Linked DNA regions of Homo sapiens: all the other regions are linked to region 2. The links are contacts of gene promoters, found by promoter capture Hi-C in blood cells and fetal thymus (Javierre and others, 2016). All regions are on one chromosome and are shown on one strand. The core of a region is centred on a gene start or on the middle of the fragment in contact, and the rest is flanking DNA. Distances in the headings are between cores, read along the strand shown. Region 1 has its middle 21 kb from the start of CKAP4. Region 2 holds the start of APPL2 (adaptor protein, phosphotyrosine interacting with PH domain and leucine zipper 2). Region 3 overlaps TXNRD1 (thioredoxin reductase 1).

Region 1 (3,997 bases), core at 1,185-3,684, 990 kb before region 2:
TTGCTCTGTTCAGAAAAATAAAAAAATATGGGGAGATGGTATATATATATGTGATATATATACGTCCAGGCTGCAGTGCGGTGGCCGATCTTGGCTCACTGTAGCCTCTACCTCCCCAGCTCAAGTGATTCTCCCACCGCAGCCTCCCAAGTAGTAGCCGGGACTAACAGGCGTGCACCACCACACCCGGCTAATTTTTGTGTTTTTGTAGAGACAAGTTCTTGCCTTGTTGCTCACTCTGTTCTTGAATTCCTGGACTTAAGTGATCACCTGCCTTGGCCTCCCAAAGTGCTGGGATTACAGGTGTCAGCCACCATGCCTGGCCTCCCCATATTCCTGATATCTTTTCATAGGTCAGAAATATTTTGTAATTAAACTTTTTTTTTTTAAAGGGGAAGAAACACATAGAGAAAAGCTTATACTTTTAATAGTTAAACTAGTACAGGTCAGAAAACAAATGACGCCTACATATATTACGTGAAGTGCTGCATTTACGCATGATTACTTTTCATAGTAATGATAGCTAAGTAGCCATGTGACAGGCCTTAGAAAGCTAAGGCTGAGAGAAGGCTCTAATCTAATTCTGTTGTTTTACAGATGGGGAGGCTGAGTCTCAGAGAAGTTGTTCACCCAAGCTCATACACTAACTGGCTAAGAAGACAGGGCCTAATTTCTTCTCTTATCCCCCACAATTTGTTTTGGCTCCAGGCCTAAGCACAGATGCAAAATGCTCAGAAGTAAGCGAAGAATCAGGGCAGTTGAGTTGCTGCAGGCAGCAAAACCCACTCTTGGCAGGAAGGGGTGTGGCAGCCTGGCCTTGCTGTGCAAGCCCCCGCGTGTGGCAGCGAACACTCAGGAGCAATACCTGTTGGGTAATGGGGCTGTGGGGAAATCCCGGCCTGTGTTCAAATAGCTGGTGATGTTGTGTTGAAAGAGGCATTACCAACTGGGTGTGGCTGCTGGTGTGAGGACACATCCTGTCCCACAGAGTCCTTCATGGAAACTCAGAAGGCTAGGTCTTTTTGTTTTCTTCCATTCACGGGTATGATCTTGGTTTGCACTCCAGGACGGAGTTCTCACATGGTGTGACAAGAACAGCAGGGATGGGGGAAGTCACCTGGAATCAGGACTCTGGTCCGAATGCTGGCCTGCCGGGCTGTGCTGCCTAGGATAATTCACTTTCCTTCTCTGGGCCTCCATCTGTTTTCCCATCTGAAAAGTGAGGGGAGATAAAGTAATCTTCATGTTCTCTTCCAGATCCAACTTTCCTTGACTTTAACCATTGCACAAGAGTCTTTTGGAGCCTCGGGTGGGCAGGAGGAGGCCTAAGGGAAAAAGGACTAGACAGTGAGCAGATCTCTAGGGGCCAGGGTGGCTTCTGTCTTAACCAAGGGTCTGTTTGTAGCTCCCATGGGGGCCGGCACACACTGGGTCACAATTAATGTTTTCTCATTTATTGGGGTGAAATGGGGAATGTTGGCCGGGCCGGGCTGACATCTTGGATAACCTCATGTGAAGACTATTCACTTTCAGAAGATGCCGGGATGCACCAGTAAAAAATCCAGAGCGGCTCAAGCCCCTGAACTTTCAGCTGGGGAATAGCCCCAAATCAGCTGACTGTGGCAGTAGGAACCCAGAGAACATAATTGAAGTGAGAATTTATTGCCATCTAGTGTCAGAGTCAGGGATCACAGGAATGATTTCTTCATTTTTCGCTCTTGTTCCAGAAAGGGGATAAAATCCAATTGTACCATTAAAAATACCAGAGAAATCCACTATTTAAAAGACCTATGTGTGTATTTCTCTGTGACATGAATGCTTTTGTAATGTGTATACTATCCTACTAATTAGCCCCTTTTGAAAACTTAGGTAATAAAGGGTTTTGTTTAATATGAATCTTTTGTTAGTAGAAGTTTAGATACCGAAAGACCTTTATCGTTCCTATGTCAAGCTAGTTAAGAAGTGCGCAGTGGCTCACGCCTGTAATCCTAGCACTTTGGGAGGTCAAGGTGGGCGGATCACGAGGTCCGGAGATCGAGACCATCCTGGCTAACACGGTGAAACCCCATCTCTACTAAAAACACAAAAAATTAGCTGGGCGTGGTGGCACGTGCCTGTCATCCCAGCTACTCGGGAGGCTGAGGCAGGAGAATCGCTTGAACCTGGGAGGCGGAGGTTGCTGTGAGCTGAGATCACAGCACTGCACTCCGGCCTGGGCAACAGAGTGAGACTCTGTTTCAAAAAGGACAAAAAAAAAAAAAAGTGCAAGTGGCGCCCTTTAAATAAGGCAAGTCAAATGTTGGATGCTTAGTCCTTCACTTAAGTAATAGTCACCCATAATTGTGTTTTGTGTTTGATGTCATGCTTTAGGTGGAACACATTTATCATCTCGCTTACCCTGACGATTATCCCAGGGAGTAAAAGTGGTTGTCTCTGATTTACTGATCAGACACTAAGAAATGGTCATTAATTTGCTCTGGGAGCACGCAGTCTGTGGTAGCAGCAGGACTCGGACTCTGTTTGTCTCTAATAAGGCCTGCTTTTTGTCTGTTAAACCATACTCCCTTTCCCATAGTAATAAAATCAGCTTCCCATAATGTCCCAGGATACAACTATGTACTTGTACTGTGTGTATAGTACTGGTGGTTAAGACACTGGGTTCTGGCCAGGTGCAGTGGCTTGTGCCTGTAATCCCAGCACTTTGGGAGGACAAGGCAGGCAGATTGCTTGAGCCCAGGAGTTCGAGACCAGCCTGGGCAACATGGCGGAAAACCCCATGTCTACAAAAAATATAAAAATTAGCCGGGTGTGGTGATGCATGTCTGTAGACCCAGCTATTCAGGAGGCTGAGGTGGGAGGATTGCTTGAGCCTGGGAAGTCAAGGCTGCAGTGACCCATGACGGCAGCACTGCCCTCTAGCCCAAGTGAGACCCTGTCTCAAAAAAAAAAAAAAAAAAAAAGATAAGAAATTGGATAAGTTGAGTTTTTGAGCCTTACTATTTGAGTTCCCAGCCATGGCATATTCTATCTGTCTGACATCGGGACAGTTACTTAAGTGCTCCGTGCCTCAGTCTCCCCACCTATAAATGCAAATGATGCTAATGATAGTGCCTACTTCATAGGGTTGTTGTGAGGCTTACTCCATCTGAGGTGCTTAGAACAGTGGCCATGACAGTGAAGTGCTCAATAAATAGTACTTAGAAATTGACTAAATGCAGGGAATTTGAAATGCCAGGCTTGTGAAATGAGCCCTTCTATTGTTGGCCTGCAAAATGTGAGTTTAGAATTTTTTTTTTGACAGGGTCTTACTCCATTGCCCAGGCTGGAGTGCAGTGGCATGATCATAGCTCACTTGCAGCCTTGACCCTCCGGGCTCAAGCGATCCTCCCGCTTAATCCTCTCTTGTAGCTGGAACCACAGGTGCACACCGCTACACCTGGCTCGTGTTTTGATCTTTTCATAGAGACAGGGGTCTCACTATGTTGCCTAGGCTGGTATCAAACTCCTCAGATCAAGTAATCCTTGCACCTCGGCCTGCTGAAGTGTTGGGATTACAGGCATGAGCCACTGTGCCCCGTTGAGTTTGGAATTTTGATTATGAGTGCCTTCAGGTGGGCCTGTGTTTGATTGTGAGTGCCTTCAAGTGGGCCTGTGTTTGATTGTGAGTGCCTTCAGGTGGGCCTGTGTTTGATTGTGAGTGCCTTCAGGTGGGCCTGTGTTTGATTGTGAGTGCCTTCAGGTGGGCCTGTGTTTGATTGTGAGTGCCTTCAGGTGGGCCTGTGTTTGATTGTGAGGTCTTCAGGTGGGCCTGTGGCCTCTAGATTCTCACATTTCCCACCACTCACTTGTGTCTGCTTCTCCATTCATTTAGGCCTCCTGTCTGGCTCCTGGAAGCATTTGGTGTTTTGATCCTTGCAGTGAGTGAGATGAATTACATGGACATTGTCAACCTGATGGAAACTTTGGGCTCTTTGTCGACCTCTTTTAAGGGCTGTGA
Region 2 (3,961 bases), core at 845-3,344:
AGATTATCAAAGGAGAGGATATTTGCCTTCAGAATTTAAATGAGAATCAAACAAGTGGGAGACAGTGCTTAACACTGAGCAGTCTATATTTAATACATGAATGAATGATTGGATGAATTAACAAATGAGATAAATTAAAACCATTTATGCATGTGTTGTATTTCCAGATCTACTTTTGTAACTTAGTTGTTTTGAATTTGGGATAGATTTTCCCATAGAAACAATGTTGTAAACAGTTCTTAAGTTCCAAGAAATCCCACTAAGGCTGTTTAGCCCATAATGTAGCAAGAAAATGCAGAAAAGTAATGGGATAGCTTAAACAATTTTTGAATGTTGAATACTAGTATTTGAAGAAAAGTAACTTTAATTAGAAGATGAGGTGGTACATGAAAAATGCTGTGATTCCCAAGGGGCTGTCTGAGCCCTTTCAAGGGTTCTGAGGGCACTAACTTCTTGTAATGCATATTTTCAAATTAAAATGTGCACATTTATTTCCCTGGGTATAATACTATCCTTGTACTGTTCTCGCAATCAGGATGAAGGAAGAGCATGAGTCTGGCCGTGAGGAATTAGATTTCAGTGAGAAGAGAGTCTGGGACACTGGATGAGGTAAAATGAACTGAATGGCAGGCGGTATAAAATAGAGGAAAGGGAAGAAATATGGTGTGAGCATGATTCCACCTATAGGGAAGACAAGAGTATGGTGGAGGCAAGAAAGAATAGGGAAGAAAGAATACTGTGGAGGAAAATATGGTAGATGGAGGCCATAAAATGGTTCAGGTCAGGTTGGCGCTGGCCAGACCAAGGGAATAATGGCCTTGGAGTTTTCAAGTGATCAGGCAGCATGCTACTATACTAGACTGTCAGAGGTGTCAGCAATGCAGATTGGGTCTTGATATACCTAAGAGGTCTCTGCAGAATGCAGAATTTATATATTACCATATCCCCTCTGTTGATTTTGGTGACACACATACTGCATGATTTTTTTTTTTTTTTTTGAGACGGAGTCTTGCTCTGTTGCCCAGGCTGGAGTGCAGTGGTGCCCTCTCGGCTCACTGAAACCTCTGCCTCCCGGGTTCAAGTGATTCTTCTGCCTCAGCCTCCCGAGTAGCTGGGATTACAGGCGCATGCCACCACGCCCGGCTAATTTTTGTATTTTTAGTAGAGACGGGGTTTCAGCATCTTGGCCAGACTGGTCTTGAACTCCTGACCTCGTGATCCACCCATCTCGGCCTCCCAAAGTGCTGGGATTACAGGCGTGAACCACCACGCCCGGCCAGTCTTATTAACTTCTAAAGAAGGAACTTCAGAAACCCTTGCCTTCCGTGTAAAAAGGTGTCACGTTCCACTTGCCAGTCTTCTTCCATCCCTCTCCCTTCCTTCTTTTCTTCCTCTGGCGTTTACTAACTGACCCTGGGCAGACCACTTATTTCTCTGGGTCCCATTTTCTCATCTCTAAATGACAACACTGGAACCTAGATTATCTAGCCCTTCCAATTCTAAACATTTGATTATGAAATTCTCCAAAATCACAAAACATAAACCAGGAGGACGAGACCTAATTATGACCACATCAAATAGCTGTGGTTTCCAAAGTGGTTATTTCTGATTATCACAGACGAGTCAGTTATCCAGCTTTTCTCCTCTTTTCTTTGTTCCCATAGCATAGGCGACCTCTTTGCTCTCAGAGCTGTTTCAGGGGCGTCGAAATTTATCTAGAAAAAGTGGTGTGGGAAGTGTGGGTTTTTCCTTCCATTAAAAGAAAAAATCTGTTCGCTCCTTCAACTCAAAAGGCTTTCTGGGTAGCCATAAGCAGATAAAACCTTATCTTTCTACCCTCGAGTTCCTCTTTTGGACTTCATATGCATTGACTTGACGGACCTTCAGCACAGAGAACAAACACCCGAAGGGTTCCCTCAGCAACGGGACTGGCACCCAGAGCCCCCCGCTCCCCGCGAGCCGGCGAGCGCAGGCGGAAGCGCGGGCGCCACATTTCCGGTGTCGGGACCGGAGCTCACCACACTTCCGGTTTCCCTGCCGGGCGCGCCACACTTCCTGTTGATCCGGCTCGGCCGGGGGCTGGGCCGGCGGGCAGGCGGCGGCGGCCACTGGCCAGGCGTGGACGCGCGCGGGGCCGCCGCGGGCACGGAGTGGCCGCCGCGTCGCCTGAGCCCAGAGCCGGGGAGTGCTCTCGGCCGCCGCGTCTCCTGCCCTCTGTCCTTCCAACCCAGCCCTCGGCTGAGCCGCGCCGCACCATGCCCGCCGTGGACAAGCTCCTGCTAGAGGAGGCGTTGCAGGACAGCCCCCAGGTACCTCCCGCCGCTCCGGTGCCCCTCGCCCGCAGGGGTGAGGCCGAGGAGGCCCCTCCAGCCCCGGAGTGGAGGCCGCGCCCCCGGCCGGGCAGCCGCGGGAGTGCGCCCGGCCCCCTCGCGGCGCCTCCCACCGGGTTCTCTCGGGCTGAGGAGGGGGCGGGCCGGGCCCTGAGTCCTGAGCCGGGGCAGAGCTGTGGAACAGGGGAGAGAGCCCCGCGGCCGGAGTCTTGATGTCGTGACCCCCCTGCAAGCTCAGCTGCAACTGAGTCTGCGAGATCTAAACTTTGATTCCATGTAGTAGCTGAGTGCCTCAGGAAAACCACCTTATTGTGCCTTAGTTTTGTCGTCTGTAAAATAGGAATAATAATTGTGCCTGCTTCATAGGGTTGTTAGGAGAAGTCAATGAGAAATACCTGTAAAGTTGTCAGCAGACAATGTCCGGTACAGATAATGAGTCAGTCTTATTACTGCTACTCCTAATGATGTGATGAGACTTGTGCCAGCCAGAATGAGAGGCAGAGGGCCTGGATCTCTTTTCCGGCGGTACCAGGCCTCCTTTTGGCACCGTTTTCCCATTAGTGAAGAGAAAAATACAGTACCTGCCCCATTTGTCGCACAAGGGAACTTCATTAGCACACTCGAGATGAGAGTCAAGTCCTTTGAGCTCTGCAGATGAAAACTGGTGTGTAAATATAGCAAATGAGTGCAGGATGACATTAGTTCATAATTCAGCACATCTTTCCCCAGGGGTCTTTTGTTCTCCTTTGTTTAACATTTCTCCAGCTTCGTACCTACACTCCTGGTTCAGCATCCCGGGTTTATTTAAATAAGTGCCTTTATTTCCTAGTGTCTCAACTCTTGAAAACTTAGAATAAGATTAACCTATTTTCGTTTCACACTTTCCCCTCTCTTTTGGGGTTCCTTCCCTTTTTCTTCTAAGTGAATAATACTTCCCAGGATGATCCTTGTATGGATTTACCTACATCGACAGTTCAGAATAAGTCCGAAGGGCTGTATGCATAGGTGTCTTTTGTTCATTTTTTGTGATCCTCCTAGTGTAGATAAGTAAGGAACTGGAAGCAAGCTGTGTGTGTGTTTTTTGTTTGTTTGTTTTGTTTTTTGGTAAGTTTGCATCCTCTGGACGACTTTTTCAAGGCCTCCCTTTTTTATATGGCTGTAGACTCCTGGCATTTTAATCAGACTAAAGCCCTTGGTAGAAGGCATTTTGTCCATGTTCATATCTGTTGTGTGGAATCTGAAGATAGCAATGTGAGATTTTAAATGATCACTTTGAACAAGGATCTCTGTTTGCCTTGCACTTATGGAAACTGAGGTGCACAGAAATATCCTGCTTTTCTAACCTACATGGTGATGCCTAAGCCAGGTTACAGTGATTATACTAACTGATTCTTGATGTTGTCCTCACAAACAGATCATATTCTTAATTTCCAGCTCTAACATAAAGGAATATACACTGTTTGTGAGTGGCTTAAAGGATTTGCCCAGCTGTGAGGAAGTAGACAGGACTGTAGAGCAAGTCAGGAGACCTGGGTTCTAATTCTGGCTCTCACGCTCACTTAGGATGTGATGTGGGTGAGTCTCTTCATCTCCACCCTGTAGCTGGCTCAGTTTCCTAATCTACAGAACAT
Region 3 (3,837 bases), core at 549-3,048, 930 kb after region 2:
TAAAAAAAAACACTTTTGGACAACTTTACACAAAACTATTGAGGAGACTAAAGGTCCTGCGCTTTAAAACGCTCGCTGCCATCATATACTGCAGTGAGGTCGACCTGGTTTTGGTTTTTTGTGAACTAAATCTGGCTGGACTGTAAACCGTCGGTAAGGCCAAGGACCGTGAAAAGCAGAAACTCCATTAAGCAGGCTAAACTCTCAGTTCTTTTGCAAGGTGGTGTTTGGACTCATTATACAAATGTAAATCGGGTTAATTACTTTCACATGTCCTCTTAAAAACCAAGCCCCCTCCAATACCCATCCTGAGTATCTGTGGGATCGGGGGAGCCTCCAATATCCGTGCTAACCCCTGCAGGAAACTGGGTGCTGGGCACGGGCATTACTCAGGTGAACTTTGGTTCTCCACTACCCAGGAGTGGAAGAATAGAATGGGTAGAGATCTCTGCAAAAGAGCTATTTACTTGGAAGCTTGCCAACAGCTAAAGGCCACCGACACTGAATGGGTAGTAACTCTGAACCCTAAAAGGTGGGCAAAGCTATGAAAATTTCAGATACAGTCTAAGGATATGAAAGCTTAATCTGTAAACTGGGTGAGTAATCTGCGTGGGAAAATTTACCCATTGGATTTAATGGGGTCACTGGAAACTCAAGTGCAGTTAAAGACGTGACTCCTTATCTGTCTCACCAGCAGCAAATAGCAAAGTATACATAACAATGGGAATGGCCGGGCGCGGTGGCTCACGCCTGCAATCCCAGCACTTTGGGAGGCCGAGGCGGGCGGATCACGAGGTCAGGAGATCGAGACCATCTTGGCTAACCCGGTGAAACCCCGTCTCTACTAAAACTACAAAAAATTAGCCGGGCGCGGTGGCAGGCGCCTATAGTCCCAGCTACTCGGTAGGCTGAGGCAGAAGAATGGCGTGAACCCAGGAGGCGGAGTTTGCAGTGAGCCGAGATCGGGCCACTGCACTCCAGCCTGGGCTATAGAGCGAGACTCCGTCTCAAAAAAAAAAAAAAAAAAAAAGGGAATGAATACATCTGGTTTTTAAAGAGAACATGCACACAAACAACCCATGAGCATCAACAGCTTTTCAAACCTGCAACAGGTACACCTTAAAAAAAAAAAGACACCCACAATTGCACCTGTCCAATTGCCAGTTTCATAGCACCAGGAAGTAAATTAGCCCTACCTTCCTTTATGCATATAGACTTGTTCTATTTCTTTAGCATTAGCAGAAAGTTTTTTGTAAATGTATAAACAGCAAAATCTAGTAGTATTAAGTTACTCCAAAATCCTTATATTACCATTTGCTCCCAATTATTTTATTAACTAGGGGTAATTCAGGGAGATACGTGCATTTTTCAAAACACCATGCATTACGGTTAGTTGTACATATATATGATCCTACCCTATTAGATTGTTGGCTTCTCAAAAACAAAAGCTGCGTTTTAGATCTTCCAAACATAGCTGTTTTTACACGGAGATGCACTTATGTACTGAATGTATAACTTAAAATAGATTTAAAACTATCCCAGCATCTACTGCAAGTTATTTGGCAGCAAAGATTTAAGTTCACAGATTCGTGGAATTAATCCTACACACTGAAAGGAAAAGTTGACTGCTCTTCAGAAAAAGTTCTTATCCCTCTTCTAAAATAAAGGAAAAATGAAAGAAAGGTAAGTTGAGACCCAGGATCATTCAAGGATCGTATCTGTCCCTAGTCTGGCCAATTACAAACTAGTATTTGAACTTGTTTTAAATCTTAGGTGAAAATACAGTTAAGAATTCCAAGACCCAAATCCAAAAAAGTCTGCTTTTACAGTGAACGATATTCTTAGGAGCTTCTCACATCCACTTTAAATTCAACAAAAGCAGCCGGGCACGGTGGCTCACGCCTGTAATCCCAGCACTTTGGGAGGCTGAGGCGGGCGGATCACGAGGTCAGGAGATCAAGACCGTCCTGGCTAACACGGTGAAACCCCGTCTCTACTAAAAATACAAAAAATTAGCCGGGCGTGGTTGCAGGCGCCTGTAGTCCCAGCTACTCTGGAGGCTGAGGCAGGAGACTAGCCTGAACCCAGGAGACGGAGCTTGCAGTGAGCCAAGATCGCGCCACTGCACTCCAGCCTGGGCGACAGAGCGAGACTCCATCTCAAAAAAAAAATTCAACAAAAGCTACTTACAAAAGAACTCTAACAGATAAGCCAACCCTTCCCACCCTATGGTGCCTATTTTCTTCTGGCTCAGAGGAAGGAAAATAGGCTGACACCAATTTGCTACATAAAGACCCTTTCATCTAAGAATTTCAAAATGCCTTAGAAAACTATATTCTCCCAACCTGCTTATAAAGTATTACTAATACCATTTACAGGGATTTCTCAGGAGATAACAGCCCACACAACTTGCTCAGAGCAACAGAGCATATCGAGGCAAACATTAAGTTGTGATTTACAGTGCTGAATGCATTCTATGCTAGATCTCCAAGAACTTTATTAACATGTAACTTAGATCATCCTAAGAAAGGCAGACTTGCATTATGTTCCACCTTTAAAAATCTGCCTTTAGGCCAGGTGCGGTGGCTGACACCTGTAATCCCAGCACTTTGGGAGGCCGAGGTGGGTGGCTCACCTGAGGTCAGGAGTTTGAGACCAGCCTGATCAATATGGAGAAACCACGTCTCTACTAAAAATAGAAAATTAGCTGGGCGTGGTGGCACATGCCTGTAATCCCTGCTACTTCAACCTGGGAGGCAGAGGTTGCGGGTGAGACAAGATTGCACCATTGCACTCCAGCCTGGGCAACAAGAGCGAAACCCCGCCTCAAAAACAAAACAAAACAAAACAAATCTGCCTTTAGACATTGCTACAAAGTAAAACAATCTCAAGTTCAATAACTCTCCCCAATCATATAAAGAATGGGATTTCCATGCCGGTTAATCTTTAAGTCATTAAACAGTGATTTCCTAACCTAAGGTCCAAGTGCTACTAATAATTATTTAAATGAAGCTTAAAAAGAAGAAACTGCACTACTGATAAATTTGTCTGTGACCAGGAATAGAAAGCAAGAAGCGCACTGGTACTTCAAAGAAACCAGTGGCGTCTACCTTATTCCCGCAGTATAGACTAGTTCAGGCAACCATGAGACTGAGTTGCCTCAGAGATAATTTAGCTCCCCTCTTTCCCCTTTTTCCTCTTTCTTCGCTCAAGAGTTGCTACCCAGGGTTCAATACAGACCTCCATTTCCTTTCCTCTTTTCTTCACCCTTTTCTCCTATATTTTCAGTTCCTTTTCTAGGAGTTTAGGTTAATTCCAAGCATTCTTGAGCTCTTTCCCACAACCCATACTGCTCAACACAAACGTGATAGGGTGGATGACAAAGGTCACATGTCTCCCTGTAACCAAATAAAGGAAGAAGTCACGAGTCCACTATTTTTCTCCAGTGAGGTTTTGCTGTTAACACTTACCTATAACAAATGGATTTTTAAGAGACTTTTTGGAGCCAAAGCCAGGAATCAGTCAGGTTTGAGTCCCACACTCTAACATATACACTTATCCTAATAGCTACCTCCCTAAACTTTTCTGTTCCTTCTTTCATAGCAGCTTTTCTCCCTTCATACCACCATGGCTTCTGTTTAATATTGAGTTGTGAAGAAATGTGGTAAAATTCCTAGTTTGATTTGCCAGAATTAGCAGGACATTAGGTATAGTTTCTCTTTCATCTTAACTTTTTTTTTTTTTTTTTTGAGACGGAGTCTTGTTCTTGTCACCCAGGCTGGAGTGCAATGGCACGATCTCGGCTCACTGCAACCTACACCCCCCGGACTCAAGTGA

The links. Contacts are between HindIII fragments. The CHiCAGO score rates a contact against its expected background, and 5 or more counts as called.
Region 1: a contact is called between a fragment that was not itself captured here and the fragment with the promoter of APPL2 in region 2, in 1 of 17 cell types (M0 macrophages). The highest score is 5.2, in M0 macrophages.
Region 3: a contact is called between a fragment that was not itself captured here and the fragment with the promoter of APPL2 in region 2, in 2 of 17 cell types (neutrophils and non-activated CD4 T cells). The highest score is 7.1, in neutrophils.

What each region holds. Positions count from the first base shown.
Region 1 is chr12:106,224,654-106,228,650 of GRCh38, reverse strand. No RefSeq gene overlaps it. Among named protein-coding and RNA genes, the nearest start is that of CKAP4, 21 kb to the left of the region's middle. The HindIII fragment of the contact is 4,033 bases long and covers 418-3,997 here.
Region 2 is chr12:105,234,307-105,238,267 of GRCh38, reverse strand. APPL2 (adaptor protein, phosphotyrosine interacting with PH domain and leucine zipper 2) reads left to right here and starts at 2,094. Exons shown (of 21, transcript NM_018171.5): 1 at 2,094-2,309. The coding sequence starts at 2,256. RefSeq lists an enhancer at 1,711-2,211 and silencers at 2,076-2,215, 2,266-2,515. The HindIII fragment of the contact is 6,549 bases long and covers 1-3,961 here.
Region 3 is chr12:104,299,680-104,303,516 of GRCh38, reverse strand. All of the region lies in intron 4 of TXNRD1 (thioredoxin reductase 1), which reads right to left. Among named protein-coding and RNA genes, the nearest start is that of EID3, 2.1 kb to the left of the region's middle. RefSeq lists enhancers at 1,642-1,811, 2,350-2,519. The HindIII fragment of the contact is 2,433 bases long and covers 582-3,014 here.